Linked DNA regions of Homo sapiens: regions 2, 3 and 4 are each linked to region 1. Evidence: promoter capture Hi-C in 16 types of primary human blood cells and fetal thymus (Javierre and others, 2016). All regions are on one chromosome and are shown on one strand. Each heading gives the region's core, a stretch centred on a gene start or on the middle of the fragment in contact. The rest is flanking DNA. Distances are from core to core; before and after follow the strand shown.

Region 1 (7,601 bases), core at 3,288-5,787:
TTTTGAGAAGGAGTCTCGCTCTGTTGCCCAGGCTAGAGTGCAGTAGCGCGATCTCGGCTCACTGCAAGCTCCACCTCCCGGGTTCACGCTATTCTCCTGCCTCAGCCTCCAGAGTAGCTGGGACTACAGGCGCCCACCACCACGCCCAGCTAATTTTTTGTATTTTTAGTAGAGACAGGGTTTCGCCATGTTAGCCAGGATGGTCTCGATCTCCTGACCTTGTGATCTGCCCACCTCGGCCTCCCTAAGTGCTGCAATTACAGGCGTGAGCCACCGCGCCAAGCCCTCAAAATAATATCATCAGAAGATCCAGCAGGGCTTGGTCTGTAATCCTGCATGGCAACAAGAGACTGGAACTAGTGGCTGCTTCCTTTAGACAGGAAATGTGGCCTTCAGCTCACCACACTCCCCACCATCCCCTATTGTCTTACACTCTGCCCTACTTCACTCTATGCTATCTGCCTGAGCTCTGCAGGCTTTCAAGTTTGTGATTCCTGCTCCCTCATGTCCCCAAGCTGTTTGTGATACTTGCCTCTCCTAAAACCACCAAATAGCCCAAGGAGAATATAAAGAACCCTACTCTTATTTGAATCTGAATCCTGGGTTGCCATTTAATCTGATGTAACCTTGGGCAGTGACATCACCTTGCTCAAGTCTCAATGCCCTAAACTCTAAAATGAAGGTAATCATATCTGGTTTATAGGATTTTTGTGAGGACTAGGCTTTGCCTAATTAGCTCTTCTCCTTTGGATCTCACCCCTAGCACTGCTTCTTCAAAAAAACCTTTCCAGACCTCCCAAATAGATCAAATCCCTCTGACAGACATAGGTTCTCAGCACCATGTCTCTTCTTGGTGGCACCCATCTCCCTTAGAATTGTACTTGAGTTTGTGGATTACTTATTTAATTCCTGCCTCTCCCACCAGACTGAAAACTCAATAATGGGAGGGGAATCCTGCTTTTGCTCCCTACCTACCACCATATCTGGCATTAAATAGGTCCTCAATAAGTATTATTTAAAAAGAAAAATGAGCTGTGTAAGGATGCTGATACAACCCCTGGCATATACGAGGTACCCCACTGATTCTCTCTGCCCCACCCTCAGGTAATGCCTGTTATGTACATGGTACCCTAAGCTTCTGGGGCTAAAATTGGCTCAATTTTTAACATTTGGGAAACAAGTGATTAGGTTGTGTTTTCTAATAAGCTATCTACCTCCCAGAATAAGGATTTTTGTTTTGCCCACTGACATACATGTAGCCGAACTGGTGTCCAGGCCACTCGTCGCCTGAAAGCCAAAAACTCAAAAGACAAGCTTTGGTGAAAGCAAAGTTAGCTTTATTCGAGAAACCAGCAACCTGCAAAAGGCAGTGCACTAGCATTCAAAGACCACCTTTCTCAGTTGTGCCTCTAGATCCAGGGATTTTAAGGAAAATTAGGAGAAATAATGATCAAAACATTCTTGTGGGCCAGGAGCGGTGGCTCATACTTGTAACCCCAGCAATTTGGGAGGCCGAGGCAGGTGGATCACTTGAGGTCAGGAGTTCGAGACCATCCTGGCCAACATAGTCAAACATCATCTCTACTAAAAATACAAAAATTAGCCAGGTGCGGTGGCACACGCCTGTAGTCCCAGCTACTCAGGAGGCAGAGGCTACAGCGAACCAACATCACTGCACTCCAGCCTGGGAGACAGACCAAGACTGTCTCAAAAAACAAAACAAAGAAACATTCTTGTGAATCATGCGCAGTCTCAGATGGGCAGTTAGTCATTACTTTCTTGGTCAATGCCTTGTGACTAGACTGTGCAGGGGCCATCAGCCTGTTCCCAAAGCTGCGGGTCTGTGTGTTTTATCTGTTGAAGAAGGTCCTGTTTTTTTCTGTGGCTGTTTTTAGTGAATAGTTTACAAACTCAGGCAAAACAATAATTATACTCAAGCAAGCAAGCTTTTCTCTAACATAGAGTCAGTACTGCTGTTACCCGTTGCAGGGCCTAGGGGACTTAGCTGGACGCCTACCTGGCTTTTGTTACCCAATGCAATGCCTCCATGACATAGCTAAATTCCTACTCAGATTTAACTCTGCTTATTTTTAGAAAACAGGTTGTCTGTGGTCATAGGTTCCTTCTTAGCTTACTCGACCTCTGAAGAACCTCTAGCTTCATTCTAATCCAACTTCAGTACTAAATGACATTCCCACTGGTTGCCATGACAGTTGACAATCACCGTGATGACCCGAAGAGACCAAAAAAAGGACAAAAAAAGGGGCAGCTCCTTGATTCCAGGAAAATCTACCTCCCTTCCCAAGAAAAAACATGAATATTCCTCCTCTTGTTCTTAATTTTTATTTTTTTTAGAGACAGGGTCTTACCATGTTGCCCAAGCTGGTCTCCAATTCCTGGGCTCAAGCTTTCCTTCTGCCTCCTCGCCTTGCTCTTAATGCCCAGCCCCTTCATTAAGGACACCTGACGACTAAGCTCTGATTCTTTTGTTTTTTTTTTCTGTTTTGTTTTGTTTTTGACACAGAGTCTCACTTTGTCAACCAAGCTGGAGTGCAGTGGCACAATCTCAGCTCATTGCAACCTCCGCCTCCCGGGTTCAAGTTGAGTCTCATGCCTCAGCCTCCCAATCAGCTAGAATCACAGGCGTGTGCCACCATGCCCAGCTAATTTTTGTATTTTTAGTAGAGACGGGGTTTCGCCATGTTGGCCAGGCTGGTCTTAAACTTCTGACCTCAAGCGATCCACCTGCCTTGGCCTCCCAAAATGCTGGGATTATAGGCGTGAGCCACCACGACCAGCCTAAACTCTTGATTTTTTTAATCCTGCCCAAATTCCTATCTAAGGGATCTGGGGAGTCATGACCTACAAACCATAAATTCTCATCAGATGGGTTTTATTTAATCCTATATATGATGACTTACTTTCCATTCTGACTCTGGCATAACATTACGTGACAAAAAGAAAGTCAAAATATTTTACCCCAAAACATGTTTCCTTGCCCTATTTTGCAATTTCTTCCATAAAGGACAGCATTTTCCCCCAAAAGCTATCCTTTGTGGGGTAAAATGTGCATCTGTAAAGAACATCTATTAACATAGCTAGATGTTTTTCTTCCAGGCCCTCCCAATCCTAAACGGATTAACTAAAAGTCTAACACCTTTTGAAGATCTGAATAGGAAACATTTGTCATCTATTATCTCTAAGAGCAGCCACCATAAGACTTCAAAAGAACCTTAGTCTCCACTATCTTTTATCTTAACCTGAACACTTCCTTTCTATCAATCCCAGGTCTTCAGACAAACTCAACCAATTGTCAACTAGAAAATATTTAAATTTACCTATAGCCTGGAAGCCCCCACCCCCACCCCTTTGCGTTGTCCCGCCTTCCTGGACCAAACCAATGTATTTAATGTATTTGACTGATGTCTCATGCCAACCTAAAACATAAAACCAAGCTGCACCCCGACCACCTTGGGCACATGTTCTCAGGGCCTCGAGAGGGCTGTATCACAGGCTGTGGTTACTCGTATTTGGCTCACAATAAATCTCTTCAAATATTTTGCACGGTTTTACTTTTCGTCAACACTCCCTATTACCTGTAACTTCTCAGTTTCCAAGAGCTGAGAGCTTGATTTGCGAGCTACCCTCCCACTTCTCCAATTCCATGGCCACTGAATGAAGGCTGCACTGCCTGATACTCACACTTGGTCTCATGCGCTGGCTCTGCAACAACGGACAGACAAGAGTTCCTTTGGGGGAAACCAGCTTCCCAGGTGACACTGTTGCCTCTGCTACATGCGCAAAGCGCAGCCTGGCACATAGTAGGTGCTCAAGAGAGGGAAAGCCGGGTCTATGAATTCAGGGACAGGGGCAGCACCAGAAGAGAGCAAGCTGGGGCCTGGCTGGCTGAACCCTGGCCCCGAGACCCCTGTGACCCCCCTTCTCATCAGGATGCACCACATGAACCTCCCCAACGCGAGGGCCAACAAGTGGCCCCAGATGAGACCGCGCCGGGAAGGGCCTGGGGCCACGCACAGATACTTCCGCCAGAAAAACACCACGCCGCGCCGTGCACCTCCGCCAGAGGAAGAAGGTCCCGCAGGGTCGGGGTAACCGCTCCATCCCCGACCGCAACCCTGGACCAGGTACAAGGAACAGATCCCTCCACCGGAACGCCGTGTCCCTCCGCCAGACACAGGAGTCCCCGCTCCCGTGCTCTCCTTCCCCGGCAGCCAGGCCCCGGTGCCGACTCCTCCGCCTCAGGGAGGCCCCGCCGCCGCCTAGATTCTCCGCCTGAAGCGGGACTCGCGACGGCAGGTTCCCTAGAATCCCTCTGTGTCCCTCCGCCCCGGGGAGGACCCTCCGCGCCCCTCTACAATCTTAAAGTCCCTCAGCGACGAGTCACCGCGCCGCGCGCTCTCGCGAGAGTCCACCGCACGGCCCCCCCCCCCTCCCCCAGCCCCTCGCCCGCCAGGACGCCTCGCGCGGGCCCCGCGGCGCTCGGTGGCAGGCGGCGCATGCGTGACTGCGGTTCCCAGCGCCCCCCGCGCTCTCCGCGGGCCGAGTGGACGAGGCCGAACGCGAGCAGCCTGCCGCTGCCCCCTGCGAGCCCTGGCTTCGCCCCGCAGCTCTTCTCCCTTCCGGGCGGAACAGTTTTTGCGGCCTTTCCTCGGCGGCAGCGGTTTCCTCAGGACGGTCGGGGCCGTCGTGGGCCCGAAAGAGCCCGGCGCCGCTCTCGGAATCCGGCGGCCCCAGCGGCACCCGCGGCGGCCTGGACGTGCTGCGGTGACCCGAGCCCGGAACCTGGCGCCGGGCGGGGCCTGCACATCCGGCCCCACCCACTCGGGGACTCGCCTCTCCGCGCCCGACCCGGGAGTAGCGGACACACCCCCTCCCGGCCCGGCTGTCCGCCTCCGCCCAGCCTTTCCTCAGCCTGCTTCATTTTTCTCCCAGTCGTCCAGCCTCCCGGTTTCCGACTTTGCACTAAGAGGGATGCACTCTGGAAAACCACATTGCGCGGTCACATCTTGTTTGGAGAAGAGGCCAGGCTTTTGCATCTTAGAGTATACGTTCACCTTTTCAAGGGCCTGGCATAGATTTGATTAATCAGCCTGGAATACCCTGTTCCTGCCGACCTGGCCGTTTTTACCTCCGTACCTTATCACACTCCCAGGAACATTAAGCAGGGAGCGCTTGGAGTCTTCTTTGGGTCCCCACCTTGAGCTAGACGTGAAGTTGACCCCTGGGCTGCAGCATGGCTGTCGCCCTCGACTCTCAGATCGACGCGCCCCTGGAGGTTGAGGGATGCCTAATAATGAAGGTGGAAAAGGACCCTGAGTGGGCATCAGAGCCCATTCTGGAAGGATCGGATAGCTCTGAGACCTTCCGCAAATGCTTCAGGCAATTCTGTTATGAGGATGTGACTGGACCCCATGAAGCTTTCAGTAAACTCTGGGAACTTTGCTGCCGGTGGCTGAAGCCAGAAATGCGTTCCAAGGAGCAAATACTTGAGCTGCTGGTGATTGAGCAGTTTCTCACCATTTTACCCGAGAAGATTCAGGCTTGGGCACAGAAGCAGTGTCCGCAAAGTGGAGAGGAAGCGGTGGCCCTGGTAGTGCATTTGGAGAAAGAGACTGGAAGACTAAGACAGCAGGTGAGAGAGGATTTTCCAAATTTTTGTACTTAGAAAAAAGGGAATGGGAAAGGCATGTGGGCAGGGATGTATTGCAGAAAGACGTGCTCTTCAGAGAAAGATAAATGGTACTAATAAAAGACCCTATAAGGGGGTCTTTTCACTTTAAGTGAATCCACTTAAAAGGGGATCAGAATTTCACATGAAATAGAAAAATAAAAGCTTTGATTGAAATATTATCTTACAATGGAAACCAGACATTATTCACCTAAGCATTTATCGTCATCTTTGGCATAATGTTTGCAACAAAACAATATAAGAGAACAATATGGTTTTGCGTCACAGAGGTTCACTTACGCATTTTGATCAAAAAAGGCTATTCTGTTCCCCCTTTAAAAAAAAAAAAAAAAGACTTCATCCGTTATCCCAGAGCCGTCTCCAAGCGTTTTACTGTTGCACTCAGTGTCTTCTGAAGTGCTCTCATGCCTTCATTTCTGTCACTCTCCTCCAGTCTAACTGCCACATCTTCATTTCTCAGTGGCTTGCATGCTCTTCTAGTTGTTCTTCAACCTCACTTTCATGAACCTCGTGAAATCCTGCAGCATTTGCAAGATTTGCGGTTTCACCTTGCATCAGACTTGCATTGTGTAGAGATCTATCAGCAGGTTGCTGTATTGGTCAGGGATAGACAGATAGATGTGGATATTAATTTTGTAAGTTTTCATTTCACTACTGTATATATTCATGTCCTGGTAACTTCTTTGCGAACGTAACAGATATAGAGTCAAATAATATCTATTCTAGCAACAAGGAGGCTCTTTCACTCCTGACAGATTTCCTTCTCTGTTTAGTATTAAATATTATTCTGGCCAGGCGCGGTGGCTCACATCTGTAATCCCAGCACTTTGGGAGGCCGAGGCATGTTGATCACCTGAGGTCAGGAATTCGAGACCAGCCTGACCAACATAATGAAACCCCATCTCTACTAAAAAAATATAAAATTAGCCGGTTGTGTTGGTGCATGCCTGTAATCCCAGCTACTTGGGAGGCTGAGAGAGGAGAATCGCTTGAACCTGGGAGGTGGAGGTTGCAGTGAGCCAAGATCGTGCCATTGCACTCCAGCCTGGGCAACAAAAGTGAAACTCTGTCTCAGAAAAAAGAACACTGTTCTGTTACCTTACACCCAGACTGCTGGACAGTACTCTCAGCCCAGCGCTCTCAGAGACTCCACTGGGAATGGAGTGGAATTTTCATTCCTTCTCATGTCTCTGTCCTTCTTTGATGTCTTTCCTGGGAGAATTTCGCCCTGATATGGGCCTGTTTTACTCCCTCTTATGGTATTGACTTCATTTCTCAGGTCAGCAGTCCCGTGCACCGGGAGAAGCACTCCCCACTTGGAGCAGCGTGGGAGGTGGCAGACTTCCAGCCAGAGCAGGTGGAGACCCAACCCAGGGCGGTGTCTCGGGAGGAACCTGGAAGCCTCCACTCAGGACACCAGGAACAGCTGAACCGAAAGCGAGAACGTCGGCCCTTACCCAAGAATGGTAAGAGGGAAGACTCGGAGCACGCCTAGTGCAGAGGCTGGGGCAGATTTCCGCAGTACCCCAACGCTGTGAATGTGCAGTGGAGGGCCTCCTTGATACATATTCAGAATAGGAGAAAGGTTTCATTCACTTCAAGAATTAGGAACATGTGCAATATAAGTGAAAAGGTATCATAAAGATGGAAACTGAGTCTGGGCAACATGGGAAAACCCAGTCTCTACAAAATCGCAAAAAAAAAAAAAATATTAGCCAGGTGTGTTGGCGTGCACCTGTGGTCTCAGCTACTCAGGAGGCTGAGTCAGGAGGATTGCTTGAACCCAGGAGGTTGAGGCTGCAGTAAGCCGTGATCACACCACTGTATTCCAGCCTGGGTGACAGAGCGAGACCCTGTCTCAAAAAAAAAAAAAAAAAGATCCAAACTGGGG
Region 2 (7,601 bases), core at 2,341-4,840, 1.9 Mb before region 1:
GTTTTAAAAACTGGCCTTCCTATAGATGGGGGCTTGTCTGAGGACCAGGTGAAGTCAGATTTTGTCTTAGTTTTACAAATCGATCTGTGGTTTCTTCATTGTGCCAGGAAAGAATTGTTTGTTGTGTCCATCTACCCCGCTGGGAGCAGCCTCACATTGGCTCCTGTTAGCCATGCAAAATGGCCTTACAGAAGGAGTCTTGGTCTGGCTGGGGAAACACTCTCTTGCTGGCTGTATGAAACAATCTTCCAGGGTCACTGGCCTCATGGGCTATGAGAAGCAGCCTTCACACCACCAACCACTTGAGATGGCCCTCCTGGGAAGGTCAGGTGCGAGCCACAGGTCACTGCCTTTCTGAATGGCCTCAGGTCCAGGCTCATCAGCCTTCTGGCATTTCCCATATACTGGTCTGATAAAAAGGCTTCTTGTTGTATCAAGAGGTTTTCTAGAGGAAAGGACTAGCCAGAGTAGCCTTATGGCCTGGCTTTATTGATTGGCTTCCCAGAACTCCTCACTGAATTGCTGTTTATAAAGTCTTATATTAAGGCCACGTGCATCGCTCACGCCTGTCATCCTAGCACTTTGGGAGGCTGAGGAGGGTGGATGACCTGAGGTCAGGAGCTCGAGACCAGCCTGGCCAACATGGTGAAAACCCATCTCTAATAAAAATACAAAAATTAGCCAGCGTGGTGGTCCACGCCTATAATCCCAGCTACTCGGGAGGCTGAGGTAGGAGAATTGCTTGAACCTGGGAGGCAGAGGTTGGGGTGAGCTGAGATCTAGCCACTGCACTCCAGCTTGGGTGACAGAGCAAGAGTCTGTCCCTCCCGAAAAAAAAAAAAAGCACACGCACACAAAAGGCTTACATTAAACAAACAGGCTTCCAAAGGAGGGAGTCAAGAATAAGATGTGTGACTTGCCAGTTCCCTGCAAGAAGAAAAAAGATGTGTGAAGCAGTCTTTGAGAGTGGTGCCACAGACTGGCCTTCGAGAGCTCTACATAAAAGGGTTTATTGGGAGTTGTACAGATAGCCTTCTAGTGGCCAGGTATAGGTGGGTCATCCAAACCAAGATGCTATTAATATTTATGTCTGCATCAGTAAAAAACTGGTGTTATTCTAGGCAAACTGACACCTACCGTAACCCAAATGTGGGCCATATCAAAAAGCCTGAGTGGCCTCGTATCTTCACTTTACAAATCAGTCTCCCAGAGCTCAACAGGTATTGGCCTTCAAAGACCTCTTGTTGATCACAGAAGGTTTTTTTATTTTTATTTTTTTTGAGACAGAGTCTTTCTGTCACTCAGGCTGGAGTGCAATGGTGCGATCCCGCCTCACTGCAACCTCTGCCTCTCAAGTTCAAGCAATTCTCCTGCCTCTGCCTTCTGAGTAGCTGGGATTACAGGTGCCCGCCACTGTGCCTGGCTAGTTTTTCTATTTTTAGTAGAGACGGGGTTTCACTCTGTTGCCCAGGCTGGTTTTGAACTCCTGACCTCAGGGTGATCTGCTTGGCTTCCCAAAGTGCTCAGATTACAGGTGTGAGCCGCCACGCCCGGCCCAGAGAAGGCTTTATTTATTTTTGTGGGGAGGGGGGCGGTCAGGTATAGAAACAGCTTGAGTGGGCTTATGTCCTGGCTTTGTGAACTGGCCTCATAACCTGGAACAGCTTTCAGGGGGAGATCAAGTGTGGGTTGCATAAAACAGCTTTTGAGTGGACTTGATTCAGCCCCTAAATGCTCCTTACATAAAGTCTTGTCTGCTGGTGTATGAAATGATCTTGCAAAGAAGGTCAGAATATAGGCTGTTATGTGCTAACCTCTGAGTGGTTTTTCTCCTGGATTTATAAATAAGACTAAAATGAATCTTATAAAAGCCTTCTTGTTGGTCGTACTAAACAAAAAGGAGCCAAGTATAACCTGTATAAAACAGCCGGAATAGACTCAGGCCTGGACTTTATAAATTCACCATCCAGGCAGAATTCACTATGCAAACTGGCAAAGTAGGTCCCTGGTAGGTTATGGGATATATCCCTCTTGGAAGCCACTGCCCTGTCATCCTAGGATTCTCTCAAATTATTTTTATTATTTTTTTTGAGACGGAGTCTCGCTCTGTCACCCAGGCTGGAGTGCACTGGCCCAATCTTGGCTCACTGCAACCTCCGCTTCCCAGGTTCAAGCAATTCTCCTGCCTCAGCCGCCCAAGCAGCTGTGATTACAGATGTGCACCACCACACTCAGCTAATTTTTTATTTTTAGTAGAGACGGGGTTGCGCCATGTTGGTCAGGCTGGTCTTGTGAACTCCTGACCTGAAGTGATCGGCCTGTCTCGGCCTCCCAAAGGGCTGGGATTACAGGTGTGAGGCACCGCGCCCAGCCTTAAATTATTTTTAAACATCAACTCCTCTAAAGCACCTCCCTGAGTATTCTTTAAGGTGGCTGGGTGGAATGGCCTCTCCGAGAGCCTCACTGTGATTTGCAGAGGGTCTCAGGGTGGGCACTCTGCAAGCACCATGCTGGTCATGAGAAAGCCTCCCAAAAGGGGCTTCCAGGACAGATCAGCCTACACCTAGCTTTCTGGGAACAGGCGGTCCAGTTCTCTAATCTCCTCAATGTTATTATGGCAGTATTCCACAAAAATTGTGCAAAAACAAGAGCTTCGTAAAACTTCCCAGGAAAGTTTGGAACATTTTCCAGAAAGCTTTAATTCATGGCACAGGGATCCCTTTGGCTCTCTAAGGGGCACACAGTCTTGTGTTTGGGTCGTCCGTGTGGCCCCAACGCCTGCGCACCTCCTGTCCCCGGGCTTGCTCCCGAGTCCTCCTGAGCACGGCGATTCCTACCGTTGCCGGGAAACGCACCGATGCCCATCGTTAAGTCCTACCGAGCTACAAGCACCTTTCCTTAGGGCAGTCACACACCCAGGCCCCAGAGGGTCCCCCGTACCCCGCACTGGCCTTGAGCCCCGAGGCCTCAGACCCCCTTCCCTCCTCAGCGCCTTCCCCGGGGCTGCATTTCTCGCGGCTCATATTTGGGACCTGACGGCGGAATCGTTTCCAGCCTGCCTTGCGGCCCAGGGGCAGCGGCTGGTTGCCTAAAAGCAGCGGACACACATATAGCAGAGTATAAAACCCGCGCAGGCGCACTAGGCCTACACCAACGCGACGCCAAGAACCGCTAAAGCGCACAGCAGCCCGCCGTAAGGGCCTGCCCTCACGCATGCGCAAAACCACTGCCAAGAGACGAGCATACGCACGCGCGGAACCTTTCCCTTTATCCTCCCGCAGGGCAGGCCGGCGACGAGCTAAATTGCATTCTCAGAGCGCATGCGGCAACTCGAGCCACCCTCGGGGTTTTCCAAGGCGCACGCGCGAGGCCGGGCTTGGCTGCTTCACATGACGCCTGCGCGGTCTATGCCTCTGAACCCGGCCTCTCCACTTCTGAGGAACTGGAGCTGACTCCGCTCTCGAGTTGCTCAGACTAACCTCTCTTCAGCTGGGACGGTGTCGAGTCGCCTTTGGGCTGGCGAAGACTCGTTGCGTTTGGTCCGACCACTCGGCTGTGTCCCCTGAGGAGCCAGAGGCTAGCATAGGAGTATCGATCGCTCACCGCTCGTCTGATCACGACGCAGTGCCTGGAGGAGCGCCGAGTGATCGATGCCGTGGCCCCGCCCCACTGCTGTTTAAAAGGCCGGGGGATGGAGAAGACAGAAAGGCTTGGCTGTATCCTCTGGGTCCTTCCACGCTAGTGATACCGCTTTTTCCTCTGCACAGATAACAACTTCGTACAAGGCTGTTTGCATCCACCATTTAATCTCTGCAGCTAGGATTATTAGTTCTCCCTATTTTACAGAGAGCGAAACTGAGGCTCAGTGATTAAAGTGGCCACATACTTGTACTTTTGGAAAGTCAGATCCACAATTACCCACGAGCAAGTGCTGCATCCACAGTCTGTTCGAGTGAGAAGGCAAGTGGCCAGGGGACACACTCCTGCCACCTTTGCTTTGATGCCGAGTGGTGCGTGGTCACTGGGACTTTTGTGTTTTGAGCACACACTCCTGTGGACTCCAAGTATGCACGCCTTTTGCAGCATTGCACAGAGGCATGGAAAGTTATGTTCGTACTGAGCTTGGGGTCTGAGTAGGAAACAGGCTTGCTCAGGATCAGTTCATAGATTAGTGGATTCTAGGTACGGTGCTAAAATACTTTAAAAATATGAGGATCGTAGCTATTGTAATGATCATGCTCATCCCCATTTTAGGGAGTGTATTAGTCCGCTTTCATGCTGCTGATAAAGACATACCCGAGACTGGGCAATTTACAAACAAAAAGGTTTAATGGATTCACAGTTCCACATGGCTGGGGAGGCCTCAAAATCATGGTGGAAGGTGAAAGGCACGTTTTACATGGTGGAAGACGAGATAATGAGAACCAAGTGAAAAGGGAAACCGCTTATAAAACCATCAGATCTCATGAGTCATATTCACTACCAGGAGAACAGTATGAGGGGAACCTCCCCTATCATTCAGTTATCTCCTACTGGGCCCTTCCGCAACACGGAATTATGGGAGCTACAATTCAAGATGAGATTTGGGTGGGGACACAGCCAAACCATATCAGGGAGGGAGCAAGTAAAGCACAGAAAGATCTCCTAACCCACCAGGCTCACTGGGATGCTGGTGTTTGAACTCAGCAGCCACAGGTTTAGAATCCTCATGGTTATGTGCTACACTAAGTTTCCACCCTTGAGTAGTGACAATGTTGAATTTTCCCTGAGTCTTGTGTCCCCGGAAAAAAGTAAAAAGGAATTGCTCTCACCCTTTTGTGTTGTGGAAAAAAGTTTACTGCAAAGAATCACCCCCCACCCCCACAAGAGAATTTAGATAAGACTCCAAGACACCACCCCCATTGTTTACCTGTGAGAGCAGGTAAACAGGACACAGACCCTCCAATTCTCATTCATTGTCTTATAAGTGATTACCTGAACTGCTTGTCCCACTAATCAATCCTTATAAAACGCTGGTCAACCACTTTGGTTAAGATTCTTTCCTTCCTCCAGGCCCCTGAACTTTGGCTCACCCTGGGCCTGGGCCAGCAGACAGCCCCTCCTCAGAATAGGCTGGCCTCAGGTTGATATATTCTCTGATCTACTAACCCATCATGTCACCCTTTCACCCCACTTCCAGGTTCTTTCTAGCCTTGTTTTCTTCTTCCTATGAAAGAAAAGCTCTTTTTGGCCTAACCCTTGTGGCCACAGTGTACTCTCTTTTGCAAGTCTCCCTTCCCCTGTTATAATAGTCCCTCCTGGCCAGGCGTGGTGGCTCACACCTGTAATCCCAGCACTTTGGGAGGCCGAGGCGGGCGGATCACGAGGTCAGGAGATTGAGACCATCCTGGCTAACACAGTGAAACCCCGTCTCTACTAAAAATACAAAAAATTACCCGGGTGTGGTCACGGGCACCTGTAGTCCCAGCTACTCGGGAGGCTGAGGCAGGAGAATGGTGTGAACCTGGGAGGCGGAGCTTGCAGTGGGCCGAGACACCGCACTCCAGCCTGGATGACAGAGCGAGACTCCGTCTCAAAAAAAAAAGAAAAAAAAGTCCCTCCTGCACCTTGCAATAATCCTTTCAAATAAAGCCACTCTTTTTTGTTTCCTTCAAATAGGATTTTTCTTTTTTATTTTTTTAAAATTATACTTTAAGTTTTGGTTTACATGTGCACAGCGTGCAGGTTTGTTACATACGTATACATGTGCCATGTTGGTTTGCTACACCCATCAACTTGTCATTTGCCTTAGGTATTTCTCCTAATGCCATCCCTCCCCCAGGACCCCACCCCCTGCCAGGCCCTAGTGTGTGATGTTCCCCTCCCTGTGTCTACGTGTTCTCATTGTTCAACTCTCACTTATGATTGAGGACATGTGGTGTTTGGTTTTCTCTTCTTGTGTTACTTTGCTGAGAATGATGGTTTCCATTTTCATCCATGTCCTTGCAAAGGACATGAACTCATCCTTTTTTATGGCTGCATAGTATTCCATGGTGCATATGTGCCACATTTTCTTTATCCAGTCTATCATTGATGGGCATTTGGGTTGGTTGCTATTGTGAACAGTGCTGCAAAAAACATACGTGTGCATGTGTCTTTATAGTAGAATGTACAAAAATCACAAGCATTCCTATACACCAATACCAGACAAACCGAGAGTCAAATCATGAGTGAACTCCCATTCAATAAAATACCTAGGAATCCAACTTACAAGGGATGTGAAGGACCTCTTCAAGGAGAACTACAAACCACTGCTCAAGGAAATAAAAGAGGACACAAACAAATGCAAGAACATTCCATGCTCATGGATAGGAAGAATCAATATCATGAAAATGGCCATACTGCCCAAAGTAATTTATAGATTCAATGCTATCCCCATCAAGCCACCACTGACTTTCTTCACAGAATTGGAAAAAACTACTTTAAACTTCATGTGGAACCAAAAAAGAGCCTGCATAGCCAAGACAATCCTAAGCAAAAAGAACAAAGCTGGAGGCATCATGCTACCTGACTTCAAACTGTACTACAAGGCTATAGTAACCAAAACAGCATGGTACTGGTACCAAAACAGATATATAGACCAATGGAACAGAACAGAGGCCTCAGAAATAACACCACACATCTACAACTATCTGATCTTTGACACACCTGACAAAAACAAGCAATGGGGAAAGGATTCCCTATTTAATAAATCGTGCTGCGAAAACTGGCTAGCCATATGCAGAAAGCTGAAACTGGATCTCTACCTTACACCTTATACAAAAATTAATTCAAGATGGATTAAAGACTTAAACATAAGACCTAAAACCATAGAAGCTGTAGAAGAAAACCTAGGCAATACCATTCAGGACATAGGGATGGGAAAAGCCACTCTTTACTAGATCTGAATTTGTTTTGACAGTGGATGGGCAGTTACTCTACAGAGACTACAGTAGGGCGGGCACTAGAATCTCCAACTTGCCCAGACAGGCACCACAGCAAGGACCAAAGGAGATTTGACCTGGGACCCCCTGATTCCAGAAGCCACAGTGTTCAGGAACTGGCTGTTAATGGTGGGTATGGAGTGCTGCCAGTCAGGCAGAGACAAACACCCCTTTTACCAGCTTGTTTGTGTTTTCAAAACTGGCTTGTTGAAATGAATTACAGGCGCAGATGAAATGTTTTCTTAAAAGAACCACAATTTTTCACCACAGGGTTTCACTTCCTGTAGTCTCTTTGCCAGTCCCTCCACCTCCTGTCATTCCCAGCAGCCTTAGAATTGGCCATTAAGCTGACAGACCCATTTGAATGCTGCAAAAGCCACTGAACAGAAAAAGGCATCATTTAGGCCCATATTTGTGATTTTTCTCCATTTGATCAGAAGCCTGTAATTTAAATATATCCAAGTGTGCTGGGAGCATTCGTGACTTAATTATCAAATTTATTTAAAATATATACATACAAACAAAGCTCCAAACTTGCAAACAACGTGTAGCTTGGCCATGAAAGAGACATTTAATTTACTTCAATTGCTTAAAAATAGACATGAAAACCTCCCATGTCTTGGCTCTTCCACTGATGCC
Region 3 (7,601 bases), core at 1,842-4,341, 1.9 Mb before region 1:
TAAGCAAAAAAGAAAAGACAGCTTCCCTTGTGATCTATATTTTTCTTTTTCTTTTTTCTTTCTTTCTTTCTTTCTTTTTTTTTTTTTTTTGAGATGAGGTCTCACTACGTTGCCCAGGCTGACCTTGAACTCCTGGGCTCAGGCGATCTCCCAGCCTTAGCCTTCTGAGTAGTTGGAACTACAGGTGCATGTCACCATACCCAGCTTATATTTTTATACTCTCCATAAACTTTCATATTTGAAACAGCTCAGAAAAATGAGTGGTGCTAGCTGTAGCTTTCTCTCACCTCCAGGCCTTTGTACATCCTGTTCCCTCTGCCAAGATCATTCTTTTCCCATCTCTTCACCTCATTGTCTCTTACTGATCTTTTAGGCCTTAAGGTAGACAACAGTGCTTCCAGGCAAACTTCCCTTGCTCCTCTGTCCCCCAAGACCAGGTTAGGTGCCTCTATTACGTGCCACTAAATAGCCTTAGAGAAACAGTATACTTGAGTGGTTAAGAGCTGAACCCAGTTAGACTGCTTGGCCTCAATCTTGGCCTATCACAAATAAGCCATGAGACTTTGGGAAAGTAGCTTAACCTCCCTCTGCCTCAATTTCCTCATCTGTAAAATGAGAATAATAATATTGTTTATCTCATAATGAAGTGGGAATTAAGTATAGTGGAAATTAAGTGAATTAAAGTACAGTTGAGGCTGGGTGTGGTGGCTCATAGCTGTAATCCCAGCACTTTGGGAGGCTGAGGTAGGAGGAGTGCGTGAGCCTAGGAGTTTGAGACTGACCTGGACAACTAAGTGAGACCCTGTCTCTACAAAAAGTAAAAAGAATTAGCCGGGGTTGGTGGTATCAGCCTGTAATTCCAGCTACTTGGGAGGCTGAGACTAGAGGATTCCTTGAGCCCAGGAATTGGAGGCTGTAGTAAGCTGGGATTGTGCCACTGCACTCCAGCCTCGGTGATAGAGTGAGACACCATTTCTGGGGAAAAAAAGTTATACTAAGACTTCAACTGTGTGGGGATTTTGTGTCCCAACACCTGCATTGTTTAAGAGTCAAATGTACTTAGAATTACATGGGAGGAACTAAATAAGTGTCAGGTGACATTATCACATTATCACTATTCTTTCTGTGGCTCCTGTCACAGCATGCACCATACACGAATGCCATAGTGACACTTTTCCAGTGGACTGTGGGGTACTTGAAGCGTAACAGGCTTTCCATACATTTTGGTTGATTGAAAATGAATGAAGCAGTAACTACTGCCCAGTCCTCTGGGGCTTGGCCTACCAAGGCTCTCCAGACAGTGCCACCCCCTTGCAGAGGGTTTAGGGCTAAATGAAACTGCAGCTTGAACAAGGACAGTTTCTGATCAAGGGAGACAGACTAGAAGCCCTAGAACTCAGCCTTTTTTTTTTTTTTTGGTTGGGGTGGACAAAATCTCACTCTGTTGCCCAGGCTGGAGCGCAGTGGTGTGATCATAGCTCACCACAGCCTTGCTCTCCTAGGCTCAAGTGATCTTCCCACCTCTGCTTCCCAAGTCGCTGGGACTACTGGCATGCACCACCGTGCCTGGCCAATTTTTGTGTTTTTTTTATTTGTGGAGACAGAATCTTGCTATGTTGCCCAGCCTGGTCTTGAACTACTGGCCTCAAGCAATACCTCCTGCCTTAGACTTCCCAAATGCTGAGATTACAGGCATGAGCCACCATGCCTGGCCAGAACTCAGCTTTATCAGTCAGGCTAGAACTCAGCTTTATCACTCAAGATTCTTTGTTGCAAACCACAGAAACCACACCAGCAAGCTTAAGTACAGGAAGAATACGACATGATTCAATAGATCACAGAACTTCCAGAGGGCTATGATCAGATTTGGAGACTATGTATGCAAGCGGGGCACTTAAATTACACCACCAGACTGCTCTAGTGGAGAGCCTGTCCCTACTGTTTCCAGCCAGAGGCAAACCAGCTTGACTCATTGATGCCCGTTGTGATGGGGTTCCGGCCTAACTTCTGCAGCGGCTGCTGTGCAAGCAGCCTGCCTCTTGTGACCTGCTGAGTGTGTTTGCACAGACAGATGGCACTGAAGAGCTTGCAGAGTCTGGGAAAAGGGGACTTTTGATGCCAACTCCCTCATCTCCCAGAATCCTGGAGATCAGATTCTATTGTATCCCCTTCCCTTCCCTTCCCATCCCGTCCCTTCCCTTCCCTTCCCTCCCCTCCCCTCCCCTCCCCTCCCCTTCCCTTTCTTTTTGAGACAGTCTCGCTCTGTTGCCCAGGCTGGAGTGCAGTGGCATGATCTCAGCTCACTGAAACTTCTGCCTCCCGAGTTCAAGTGATTCTCCTACCTCAGCTTCCTGAGTAGAGAGTAGCTGGGATTACAGGCACATGCCACCATGCCCGGCTAATTTTTGTATTTGTAGTAGAGATGGGGTTTCACCATATTGGTCAGGCTGGTCTCGAACTCCTGACCTCAGGTGATCCACCCATCTCAGTGTCCCAAAGTGCTGGGAGTACAGGCATGAGCCACCGCACCCAGCCTCCCTCCTGCTTTTCCAAAAGCAGTGGTAGATGATAACAATGGTAACCAACATCATTGACTCCCCATGGGGCACTGAGCCATGACTCCTGATGGGCCACGTGTTTTGCAGCATCGTCTCCCATCCTTCTCACTACAATCCTGGGTGGCAGGTGCTGTTATGAGCTTCATTATACATATGAACTGAGGCTCAGAGAGGTTAAGCAACTCATCCAAGGTCACACAGCACAATTGAGAATTTAAATCGAAGAGGACTCCAGAGCCCAGATTCTTAACTACCACACGGTACTGCTGTCTTTACTCCCCGGGGAACTTAATTGATGGTTTAGACAATAGCGAGAGGGAGGGTGTGTATGCATTCATGAAACCCGGTCTGTGCCAATCTTCCCACCAGGAAGGGTGTTGTTGCAGGGCAGGATTGTGCATTTCAGCCGAAGTGGTGGCAGGGGAAGGGTCCCTGTCCTGGCAGACAATGAGCTTTTTGACTTCTAGTGACCAAAGGGTAAGAAATGGAACTAAGCTCTTGTCCATAGCCTGATGACGCCGATGCTCCAGGATCCTTCTTCCCTCCCTCCCTTCTCCATCCTCCTTCATCTTTCTTCCCCTACCATTGTCACCATCCCTATCACCACCACCCTATTATCACCATCCTCATTCAGCATGGGCCGCTATGCACCACTGTCCTCTTCATATTATGTCACCACCAGCCCATCACCAGCCCACCGTCCTTTATTATGACCATGACAATAACCATCACCCTGGGCACTACCACCACCACCGAGCCATCACCAAACTGTCAATGTCACCATGTCTACCGTCTTCCTGACACCCTCATCACCACCGCTATCAGCATCATCAACCCTTCCATCCCCCTGCCATGACTGCCTCTCTGCTGCCACTATCTCCACCTGCACTGTCAGCATCACCACCCGACTCTATGAGCCTGTTCACATCACCATTCACATCACCATTCAGTGATCGACTTCATTCACCACCCCCAGCCCTGTCACGATCATTCCACTGTGCTTGCCATCACTGTTGTCCCCCCAACTATCTTTTTTATCTTTTTTTAAGGTAGAGGTTCTTGCTCTGTCGCCCAGGCTGGAGTGCAGTGGCACGATCATAGCTTACTAGAACCTCAAACACCCAGGCAACAGGCATGTGTGATGACCATGCATGGCTAATTTTTATTTTTTTTTAATTTTTGTAACCTGGGAGCATACATTCAAGTTGCCCCGAATATACACTCCCCCAGCTAATTAAAAAACTTTTTTTTGTAGAGATGGGGTCTCTCTATGTTGCCCAGGCTGGTCTCGAATTCCTGGCCTCAAGCGATGCTCCCCGCCTCGGCCTCCCAAAGTGCTGGGATTACAGGTGTGTGCCATGGTTCCTGGCCGCCATCACCAATATTTTCACCAGCACCAATACAACCCTGCACAAGTCACGAACACTTTCTGAGTCTCTCCTGGGCTTTAGGCTAGTGTTAAATGCCAAAGATGAAAACATGCTGATGAAAGGGACTGTGATTTGTGTTTTCCGTCATTGCTATCATCAGCGATTACTGGGCTCTCTCATTCATGCCTTATTCACCACCATTCCCTGCCTAAACAGTTGCTTTGAGCAGAAGTGCATCCTGTAAAACGTGTGAGTTTCTCCAATATCAAAACACGCCCCAGAGCCCAGCTTTTGCCTTTCCCCTTCCCTTATCCCACAGGCAAATCCCACTCACCGTTCCCTTACTGGTTTTGGTTTGGTGTCACCAGAGAGTACATTTTCCCCTCTCTCCCATCCCTCTCCAGGCCTCTGCATGCCTGTCTTTGACCAACTTGTAACTGGGCTTTAAAGCTTCCCAGCCCCAATATGCTGATATAATTATGATCATATGTTAGGCGGGTTTTGTGAGCCTTAATTAAATGTCCCTTGGCTAAAAGAAGAAAATGGCAAAAATCTGCTTCCCATCGCCAAGGCTGTGCGGGGCCTCTGGAAACCCGTTGTCTTTTGGGTCTGGGTGGCGATTCTGAAGAAAACAACCTGTCCTCCCGGCCAGGCCACAGAGAGGAAAGAGAGGCTGAGCCTGGAGGCTTGAATCTGGCCCCAGATGACCGGTCAGAAGCAGGCAGATTTCAGCTCATTTCAAGAGCCTGTGGTTGGTGGAGTGGGTGGGCTTGGTGGGCTCCGGCGTCACCGTCTTGGTAATAGAATGAGCCCTTACACTAATGCCATTGATTGTAACTGTAATTAGCGGATTTAAGGGCCGAGGATTCAATAGCTCCACAGTCATTCTAACATGCCACGAGTGGGTTAACACTTGTCATTTCCACTGTTTCCTTGGCTTTCAAAGACAGGCAGCTGCTTTCCTTGAAGGGGCTTCATAGGGGCAGTGGGGAGATTTGGGTCCAAATCCTGGTTCTGTTCCTTGCTGTGTGATCTTGGCAAGCCCCTTCACCTGTCTGTGCCTCAGAAGGTGGAAAACAGAGATAATGGTAGTGAATACTGCCTAGAGCTGTGGTGTTGATGAAACACCTGCGTGCTTGGCACAAGGTAAGTGTGCAAGAAGTGTTTTCTGTTAACATTGTTAATTTTTTATTTTATTTTGTTTTTATCTTTTTTAGAGACACGGTCTTGCTCTGTTACCCAGGCTGGAGTGCAGTGGTGCAATCTTAGCTCACTGTAGCCTCAACCTCCTGGGCTCAAGTGATCCTCCCACCTCAGCCTCCTGAATAGCTGGGACTACAGGCATGTGCCATCTTGCCCACATTACTACCTCTTATCTCTGTTTCTCTCTGTCCACCCACACAGATATGCTTTCTCAGATTTTCTGTTCATGTGGGGACCATGTTTCAGAGCTCCCAAGGTTACAAGTTACTATGCCCAGGTAATTAAAAAATTCTTTTTGGTAGCAATGCGGGTCTCACTATGTTGTCCAGGTTTGTCTCCAACTCCTGGGCTTAAGTGATCTTCCCGCCTCAGCCTCCCAAAGTGCTGGGATTACAGGTGTGAGCCACTGTGTCTGGCCCATTATTAACTAATTAGTGCATCAAACAAATGTGTCAGAAATTCCAGTGGATTCTAAGTGGACATGGGCATGTTGGGATATCCCCAGAACACTAGTAGGTGTGGGCCTACCATCTGCGTTTGCAGGAGGACTGAGAAATATCCAGAAAGCAAAGGCCTTTAGGAGCAGCAAGAAGCAGGGCCTGGAGGAGGATAAGGCAAGTGAGGCATTCAGGGCACAACATTTAAGGAGACCCCACTCTCAGGAGCTGACCCTGCACTTTCACGAGCCTGAGAGTGAGGGCCTCCTTAAATTTTCCATTCTGGGCACCTCCTTGGTCTCACCCTGGCAAGAAAATGGACCTATCCAGCTTGTTCCAGTGATCAGAGCTGGGGCACAGAGTTTTATCATAAGACTCTGTTGCAGCCAGAAGTTACCACAATGATGTTGCAGACATTTGTAATGCAATGTGGTTATGTTGTTTCTTTTTTTCTTTCTTCCTTTTTTTTTTTGAAATGGGATCTTGCTATGTTGCCCAGGCTAGACTTGAACTCCTGGGCTCTAGCGATCCTCCTGCCTCAGCTGCCCGAGTAGCTGGGACTATAGGCATGCATTGCTGCTTCTGGCCAGTGTGGTTTCTTTTGAATAGCTATGAGAAGTCTCTTTATTTAGGAGCTCTGCCTCTCCATGTCAGAAGTCAGGAGTGCTGCTTTGTAGCTTTCCTTGCAGCAGGAGTACAGGACCCAGTTCTCAGGAACAGCGTGAGGAGGGGCCTGGCACTAGCAGTGGGCAGGATAGCTGTAGGGGCCTGGTTGCAGTATTCTTGCAGTGTAATTTGGGGACTTCTGGCTTTGTGGGGTCCAAGCTTGATTCTCTGGTTCTTCTGGAGACTTGATGAATGTCCTTTGATGAATGCCTTTGTGACCTAAAGCCGCCATAGTGGAGTCTGTTGCTGGCAACCAACGACTCTGACTAGGATATGGAGGTGTCTCACGAAAGTTAAGGCAGGAATATCCCTAAGTCTTAAGAAAGGCCTGGAGCTGGGAAGTGGAAAGGTATCAGCATGCCATTTCTCTCTCTTTTTTTGGGGTTGTGGTTGTTGCTGTTTCTTCATTCATCTTTCTTAGGTTGAAAATAAATTTAAAAAAGAAGCACAAGATTTCTTTTTCTTTTTTGAGGGACAGCTTTTGCTATGTTGCCCAGTCTGGTCTTGAATTCTTGGGCTCAAGGAATCTTTTTGCTTCAGCCTCCTGAGTAGCTGTGACTACAGGTGCATGCCACTGTGTCTGGCTTTCTACATCTCATCTCTGTTTCTCTCTGTCCATCCACACAGATACACTTTCTCAGATTTTCTGTTCATATGGAGGCCATATTTCACAGCCCCCAAGGCTACAAGCTTCAACCATTACAGAAATTAGCCCCGTTTATCTTGGCCTCAGCACTAAATTCTTATGAGAAATAAATCTGGTTGGCTCAATTTGGGTCAGTTGGCCATGCCTGGTCTAATCACTGTGTCCAGGGAGTAGAATTACACAGTGCAAATATTTCTGATAAGGTCCCTCCCATTGGCAGTTTCCAGGGAAGGAGAATTGATCCTGAGCTGGAACAGATATCCCCAAGGGTCTACCATAATCAAGAAAATTTCTATAGTTAAAGCCAAAGAGGCTACTCAGCTCTTTCTGGCAGCTCCACCCTGTGGGAGGCTGTCTCATTCCAGGGTTGGAGAGAGCTGAAATTAAAGACAGAAAGAGCAGTTTCAGCAAACACTGGAACACATGGGGCCCAAGTGGCTCTGATATGAGGCCACTGTGACATAGTACATTTTAAAAAATCTGGCTGGGTGCAGTGGCTCATACCTCAAATCCCAGTTATGCAGGAGGCTGAGGTGGGAGGATCATGTGAGGCCAGGAGTTCAGGATCAGCCTGGGCAACACAGAGAGACCCTGTCTCTAAAAACATAAAAAAATTAGTTAGGTGTGGTGTCACACGCCTGTAGTCCTTGCTACTCAGGGAGGCTGAGGCAGGAGGATCAAGTGAGCCCAGGAGTTCAAGGCTGCAGTGGGCTATGATTGC
Region 4 (7,601 bases), core at 1,461-3,960, 1.9 Mb before region 1:
CACACATTATTACTAGACCCCAAAATGATCACAAATCAAATCATTGCATGGATTCCATTCTGGTTGTCAGGGAGATGATCCAGAATGTGCTAGTATTTGTGAACACACTAAAATTTTAATAAGTTATTGCTGAGCACTTATAAATCCCTAAGTGTAATCTGCAAACTTTCAGGGAGACTTTAATGATAGTTTTAGACTCTTCAAGACAAGATCTGTCTTCTAGCATGCTCCAGCTTTGCCTTGTCTCTGGCCCTTTCCTGTTCCTTGCAGCAGCCTGAATTAGTTCATTTTCATACTGCTATGAAGAAATACCTGAGACTGGGTAATTTATAAAGAAAAAGTGGTTTAATGAACTCACATTTCCACATGGCTGGGGAAGCCTCACAATCGTGGTGGAAGGGGAAGGAGGAGCAAAGGCACATCTTACATGGCAGCAGGCATGAGGGTGTGTGCAGGAGAACTAGCTGCCCTTTATAAAACCATCAGATCTTGTGAGACTTATTCACTACCATGAGAACAGCATGGGAAAACCAGCCCTCATCATTCAATTTCCTCCCACTGGGTCCCTCCCACTACACATGGGATTATGGAAGCTACAACTCAATATGCGATTTGGGTTGGGACACAGCCAAACCATATCACAGACTTATAATCAAATGAACAATTGTAAAATTGTTCATTTACATGCTTGAGAGTCTGGACTTTATTTTTTTGATGTTTAGTACAGAGATGGATACCAATTAGGAACTGAGTATATTTAACAAATAACTTCAATTTTTCCTTTTATACCAAAGTTGTATATGTTTACACCCCTAATTCTATGGGAAAATTGGGCCAGTTTCACTCTTGGATGGAGCCAGCTGGTAAAGTTGGAGGTGAGGGAGTCTTTTTCAGGGACCCTGGAGTGTGCCCAGAATTTGTTTCCTGGGAAGAGTGGAGTGGTTCAGTGATGTTTCTGGAGAGTAGGAGTGAGGATGAGACTCCACCAGTCCCATTGGGCAGGGAGCTTCCTTCCTGGAAAAATGTCCTCTTTATGCTGAATCCCATCAGAGACTCCTGCTGTACAGTGATTCAGGGAAAGGTACCGCCTCTCTCTTTGTGCCTCCGTTTGACTAAAATGGGGGAAATGATACCACAGAGGCCTCATGGGACTGTGGAGAAGAGTAAATGAGCTGATATATGTAAACATGCCCAGCGTGGTGCCTGCCATCACAGATGTTCAAGAAACACAAGTTTTCTGTCTCCCTTTGCCCATTGTGTTTGAGAACACAAAGCCCTTAGTTAATGGAAGCACTAGTTGGGGAGCGGGAAATCTGAGTTCTAGTCCTGGTTCTACCATGGTGTGACTTTGGGCATATCATCTTCCCTTTCTGAACCTCCATTAAAAAAAATCGATAATGTGGGGATGAATGATAATGCTATCTACCTCACAGAATTTCAGATGGGATTACATTAAATACAGTGGTGTTTGAGTAAGAGACAATCATGGTCTCTGGCAAGTGACAACAACAATAAAAACTGAAAAAATGGCTGGATGTGGTGGCTTATGCCTGTAATACCAGCACTTTGGGAGGCCAAGGCAGATGGATCACTTGAGGTCAGGAGTTCGAGACTAGCCTAGCCTACACAGTGAAACCCCATCTCCAGTAATACAAAAAAAAAATAGCCAAGTGAGGTGGTGTGTACCTGTAGTCCTAGCTACTCAGGAGACTGAGGCAGAAAAGCCGCTTGAACCAAGGAGGTGGAGGTTGCAGTGAGCTGAGATCATACCACTGTACTCCAGCCTGGGTGACAGGGCAAGACCTTGTCTCAAAAAATTAAAAAAAAATTTAAAAGGGGAAAAAGTGCTGTTGACTGGAATTATAAAAGGCCAAATATTACTATATTCCTATATACCAGGAATGGTTCTTAGGAACCTAGATCCAGACTCTCATTTATTCCTTGTGTTGGCAGCAAGAACATCTCCACAAACTTGGGGCCTGAATGAGGCAGAGTGCTTTCATTTTCCCTACGAATTGCTTCCGCAACCACCTGCCTTATTAGTAGAATGTTCATCACTTTTCTTGTGGAGTTCTCTGTGCCCTCTTAAATGATCTGTGAACCATACAGGTGTTCTTAGTTCCAAGGGGAATGTCTGCCCATGGTTAACCTACAAGTGGCTAAGGACAGGGGTCTGATTAGTTCACTGCTGCAGTTGCCTCATGTTGCCAGAGGGGTTGCTGTTGAAGAAAGCTTTGCACAGTCTTGTGAATGCTTTGTTCTGTGATTATGTGAGACCCAGTTTCTGGATATCCATTGAGAGAGAATGATCCGACTCCTTCAGTGCTAAGTGTGGCCAAGAGCTACACACATTTGGCCCCAGAGTTACATCTCTACAATCAATTCTATCAGTTCGCATACACAGTCACTCCTTGGGGTATAAGCAGGAACCAGGAACACTGATTTGGGGTCAGGTCCAAAGTGTGACTACTCAAAAATGCTTACAGCAACTATACTTCCTGCCTCTCCTGTGACTTAATTGTTAGACAATTAGACAGCAATTATTTGACTCATTCAAACCCAAAAACTCTTGTTATATTCATCTTGAAGGAAGTCCTGGGCCACTTGAAGCAGGCTACCCTTGGTGGCTACAAAATGTCATCTGTTCCCAGTTGTGCTATGTTATAGTTTACAGAATCTTTTAATAAAATCGAGGGAAGAATCTGCAAGTTTGACATTCTATAGGACAGTCCTATTATCCTCCCAAGAATGGAGCAGAGGTCACTGTACTGTGCTCACAAGTCTAAAAATGTGGTCTGGAGATACTGTAGGAAGAGTAGAGGTGTTAGAAACAGACAGAAAGTGTTCAAATCTGTGGTGGAAATTAGTCGTGTTTACTCACCCAGTGTCTTATTGCTCCTTCAGCTCTCATGGGAACCTCAATTTTCTTTTCGTGAATTATCTCTTCCTCGCTCTCAGTCTCAGTTTGGGTGGGACTGGTCCTACCTTTGTTCTCAAGGGGTGGGAATCTGAACCAGGCCTGGCCAATGAAAGGACTGAAACTCCCTGGCTACAATTATTGGTTCACGGATCAGCACATGACCCAAGTTGGGCCAATGAAAGGCTGACTTGATATTTTTGCTAGAATGGTGGGAAAAGAAGCACTTCCTTTCTTTGGGGGAACACTAAGCTGATGGGATGTAAGCTTAAAGCTGCTAGGATTCTATGTTAGCCACCAGGTAGAGAATGCCTGATTGAAAATGAAGTCAACTTTGTGGAAAGAAGAGCCAAGTGATAGAGACTGAGAGATTCTACATGATGTTGAGCCCCTGGATCCAACTGTGCCTGAAACTAGAACTACAGATGGTCTGTCATGAACCAGAACATACCCATTTCCTAGTTAAGTCAGTTTGATTGTGTGGGGTTTTGGTCATTTGCCATAACACAGTATGCAATTAATCCCCTGAGGATCAGTATAAGTGGGTGCTCAGCAGAGCAAGATGTTAAACAAAAGACAGACAGACAGACAGGCAAACAGGCAGACAGATGTTCTCTGATGATTAGGCACTTCTTTCCACCTCTTTTCAGAGCAGAGCCACCCCACCCCTCCTCACTGGATGCTTTGCTTGTGTCTGGCACAGCCAGGGCAGGGTGCCAGTACCAGGCAGGCTGCAAATATTACAAAACGTCTGGGGAAAACGGCATTGTTTCCATTTATGTTTTTGCTTCCCCTCTTGTCTCCTGCATTTTTGCTTTTATTTAAGGCTGTGTTCAATGTTGTAATTACTTTTTTAATCGGTAATGTCTGTGTCTGGGGTGTGTGGTTACCCACCATTGCTGGGCCTGACACTGTAAACAAATGCTGGCACTTTGGCTGGGAAGTTCCTGCTGAAATATTGCCCTAAATAAATAAAAGGCAAATTAGATATTGGAAAATAACTTTAAATTACATTTGAATTCTTGGGGAATTACATCTTACATTTGTGTTAGGGACAAATGAGTTTGCCATAAATAATACGTCTAGAACAATTGACCAAGGAGGACAGCGGTGTTGGACAGTTTCTGGGAGGAGGGACGGGAATAGATCTTTCAAAGGGAAGTTGGGGGTGAAACAGAGGGGACTTCTTAAGGGATGGTCATGGGAATGGGGTGCAGAGAAGTGTAAATCTTAAGAAACCTTGGGTATATCTGCTGGATATGCCAAAGAGATTGGTACTCTTGAAAGGAAAGCCATTAGGTTGATTAACTGGGTTGTTCCCAGCAGATGGAAGGAGGAGCTGATGTTATCATGTACCTACTACCTACTGGATGCCTGACAAACATGGAGGTCGTATAGTCACCAGCTTTGGTGACAGGGACCTGGGTACAAATACTGGTGTTGTCACTACCACTGCTGACCAACAGGCAGACAGCTGATGTCAGGGAACTTTAGTTTCCTGACCTTGTTACTGAAGAAGCTCAAGGCAGGGAGGTTCATATGGCTTGCCAGTAGGGATGTTGGCACCAGCGTGACTTGGGTTGAAGTCCCTGTTTTTCTGGTTCCTAGTGTGTACCTTTGGGCAAGTCACTTACCTCTCTGACCCTCAGTTTCTTCATCTGTAAAATGAGGATCATAACAAAAGTAACTTGTCTCTCAGAGTTGCTATGATAATTAAATATAATAATGAATGCTATTTGCCCAGCACAACTTAATGCATGGAATGGTAATTAATACTATTCAGTCTTGTTATTTGCACAACGGTCTTGTGTAATAGTATGTTAAAATTGAAGTTTCACTTAGGCACGAAGATAAGATAGAAGGGAAATTTTGAACTGAGGTGCCAATTCACTGTATACAGATTTTTTTCTTTTCTTTTCTTTTTTTTTTTTTGAGACAGAGTCTTGCTCTGTCACCCAGGCTGCAGTGCAGTGGCGTGATCTCAGCTCCTCTGTCTCCCGGAGTTCAAGTGCAACCTCCGTCTCCCAGGTTCAAGTGATTCTAGTGCCTCAGTCTCCCTAGTAGCTGGGATTACAGGTGCCTGTCCCCACACCTGGCTAATTTTTGTATTTTTAGTGGAGATGAGGCTTCACCATGTTGGCCAGGCTGGTCTCGAACTCCTGACCTCTAGTGATCTGCCAGCCTTGGCCTCTCAAAGTGCTGGGATTACAGACATGAGCCACTGCACCCAGCTATGTAGATTTTCGAATGAAATAGTTGGGCACATATACCACAATTCTCAATCCCCTTTTACCTGTTTCAGAAATAGAAAATAATTGGGAATGAAGAAGAGACAAATAATTTGTAAAGATGATATCTGTACAGAAAGCACTGCTGCAAACCTTATCCTCTCCCTACTTTAGGGAATATATGGTACCTGCTCTCTTTATCTCAAAGCTAGGGATGGGTGTGCAGAGTACAACCTTAAGACTAGAATATGGGATATATTAGTTGGGATAGGACAGGCTTTGTTGTAGTAACAAATAAACCCAGAAATCTCAGTTGCTTAATCCAAAAACAATTTATTTCAAGCTCAAGTTGAAGTCTGGTGCAGTTCAGGTTGTCCTCTTCCTGTTATGATAGTGCTGTCTGGAACTTACTGCCTTTAAGGGAGAAGAGAGAGGATGGAAACATCTGGCTCTCAAGTGCCTCTATCCAGAAGAGACATATGGCCATTCCATTCACTTTACTGGCCAGAACTTGTTTCATGGCCTCCATCCAAATGCAACAGAGACTGAGAAACAGAGGAGCACATAGCTATTTGGTGAGCACTATCAACTCTTAGAGACTCTTCTCCTAGATGAGCTTGAAATGTGTTTCCTGCATGCAGTTGGGAGACATGGAATACCAGTGCTTGAGTCACTTCCCCCCTTGCAAAAGGCAAAGCAGCCAGTGGTACCAGGAAAACTGTTGGGTTCAGTTTGCACTTGCAGAGGTTGTCAAGGCAAGGGATGTATGGCTGTTTCCTATGGACTAGCTAGGGGAGGGGGAGCTGATGTGGGATCGTCGTGGGACCCATCCAATAGGGCCTTCTGGAATGTGGAGGTGAATGCATAGGGACAAGGAAAGAACACCTGTAATAGAGATGCACCCAGATTTCAGATGGAAAGACTCCAGCAGGAAACTCTAAAGTGCTAACAAGTCCTCCATGAGAGGATCAGTATTCAACATCTGCCAGGTCTAGAGGCGACAAAGCCAGCGTGCACAGCATGAGTTCATGTAATTGCAACTCCTACTGCTTTGCCCTCTTTCCTTCCCATGTACCAGCCCCGGAAGGGAGAGGTGCTAGTTTCCCAATGGGGCCAGACAGATTGAAGGAAGAGAGAAGCCAATCACACCCGCCTTCCCAGTGCTAGCTTCCAGTCCGACATAGAGTGGATCTGGGAAACTGCAAGATCGATGGTTAAATTGAGTTCAGAGTTGGATGACTACTTTGGTCTGGACACACTATTTATTGAATTGAGACTCTATTTTAATCTTTCAACAAATATTTACTGCATACCACTCCTCTAGATGCTGCGTTACATTGTCAAACCAACACAGATGTCTGCTCTCGTGGGGCTGACATTTCTAGTGCTGGTGTCATCGGGCAGTCAAGAGCAGAAGAGTCTAGGGGAAGTTTCCAACGAAAGCAGAAGAAGATATGTCTTACTGAATGAAGTTTAAGGGCATGATGAACACAGGAATAAAGCTTCAGTTACATCTTGAGCCATTCTCATTAAAAAAATTTAAATTTTACTTTAAGTTCTGGGATACATGTGCAGAATGTGCAGGTTTGTTACATAGGTATACATGTGCCTTGGTGGTTTGCTGCACCTATCAACCTGTCATCTAGGTTTTAAGCCCATGATGAATTAGGTATTTGTCCTAATGCTCTCCCTCTCCTTGCTCCCAATCCCTGACAGGCCCTGGTGTGTGTTTCCCCACTGTGTCCATGTGTTCTCATTTTTCAACTCCCACTTATGAGTGAGAATATGCAGTATTTGGGTTTCTGTTCTTGTGTTAGTTTGCTGAGGATGATGGTTTCCAGCTTCATCCATGTCCCTGCAAAGGACATGAACCCATTCTTTTTTATGGCTGCATAGTATTCCCTGGTGTATATGTGCCACATTTTCTTTATCTGCTCTATCATTGATTGGCATTTGGGTTGACTCCAAGTTTTTGCTATTGTAAATAGTGCTGCAATAAACATATGTGTGCATGTGTCTTTATAGTAGAATGGTTTATAATCCTTTGGGTAAGTTTTGAAGAGAAGACAAGGGTTGAAGAAAGATGCAGAGAGAGAGAGAGCGTGGCTCAACAGCAAATGCAGGCATTTATGTCCAGCATAAACCTGCAGAGGTGGGGGTTCAGCTTAATATCAGTGTGTACCACTGCTTATAGGCGGGGGCAATTATAGGCCTGTGGGGAAGAGTCTGGAATGTGGGGGCATAGCCTGCTTCATGGGAGAATGTTCATAATGTGTTCCCAGGATGGGTGGTTCTGGCCCTTGTTCCAGCAGAATGTGGTTTTCCTTGAACTTTCCCTCAGCAGAATATGATAAGAGGCAGGCTGTTTCTCATGGCCTGAACCCCCATGGAATGTTTCACTTTGACCAAGGTCTGCGAAATGGTGGGGGGCTTACAAAATGGTGCAGTTTGGACTA

Evidence for each region. The method cuts DNA at HindIII sites, captures the fragments that hold promoters and counts their contacts. A CHiCAGO score of 5 or more calls a contact.
Region 2: the fragment with the promoter of KDM8 here is called in contact with the fragment with the promoter of ZKSCAN2 in region 1 in 2 of 17 cell types (endothelial precursors and fetal thymus); the score reaches 10.9 in endothelial precursors.
Region 3: a fragment that was not itself captured here is called in contact with the fragment with the promoter of ZKSCAN2 in region 1 in 2 of 17 cell types (endothelial precursors and naive CD8 T cells); the score reaches 7.8 in endothelial precursors.
Region 4: a fragment that was not itself captured here is called in contact with the fragment with the promoter of ZKSCAN2 in region 1 in 1 of 17 cell types (endothelial precursors); the score reaches 7.7 in endothelial precursors.

Annotation. Positions count from the first base shown.
Region 1 is chr16:25,254,781-25,262,381 of GRCh38, reverse strand. ZKSCAN2 (zinc finger with KRAB and SCAN domains 2) reads left to right here and starts at 4,537. Exons shown (of 7, transcript NM_001012981.5): 1 at 4,537-5,653; 2 at 6,990-7,176. The coding sequence starts at 5,255. ZKSCAN2-DT (ZKSCAN2 divergent transcript) reads right to left here and starts at 4,805. Exons shown (of 1, transcript NR_170220.1): 1 at 1,316-4,805. RefSeq lists enhancers at 3,676-3,755, 3,876-4,195, 4,611-5,171 and silencers at 4,406-4,605, 4,686-4,925. The HindIII fragment of the contact is 3,031 bases long and covers 2,410-5,440 here.
Region 2 is chr16:27,199,515-27,207,115 of GRCh38, reverse strand. It overlaps KDM8 (lysine demethylase 8), which reads right to left and starts at 3,590. Exons shown (of 8, transcript NM_024773.3): 1 at 3,480-3,590. RefSeq lists an enhancer at 3,386-3,545. The HindIII fragment of the contact is 9,655 bases long and covers 2,698-7,601 here.
Region 3 is chr16:27,164,101-27,171,701 of GRCh38, reverse strand. The region is part of intron 2 of LINC02129 (long intergenic non-protein coding RNA 2129); the gene reads left to right. Among named protein-coding and RNA genes, the nearest start is that of LINC02129, 8.7 kb to the left of the region's middle. The HindIII fragment of the contact is 2,579 bases long and covers 1,802-4,380 here.
Region 4 is chr16:27,125,574-27,133,174 of GRCh38, reverse strand. No RefSeq gene overlaps it. Among named protein-coding and RNA genes, the nearest start is that of LINC02129, 47 kb to the left of the region's middle. The HindIII fragment of the contact is 952 bases long and covers 2,235-3,186 here.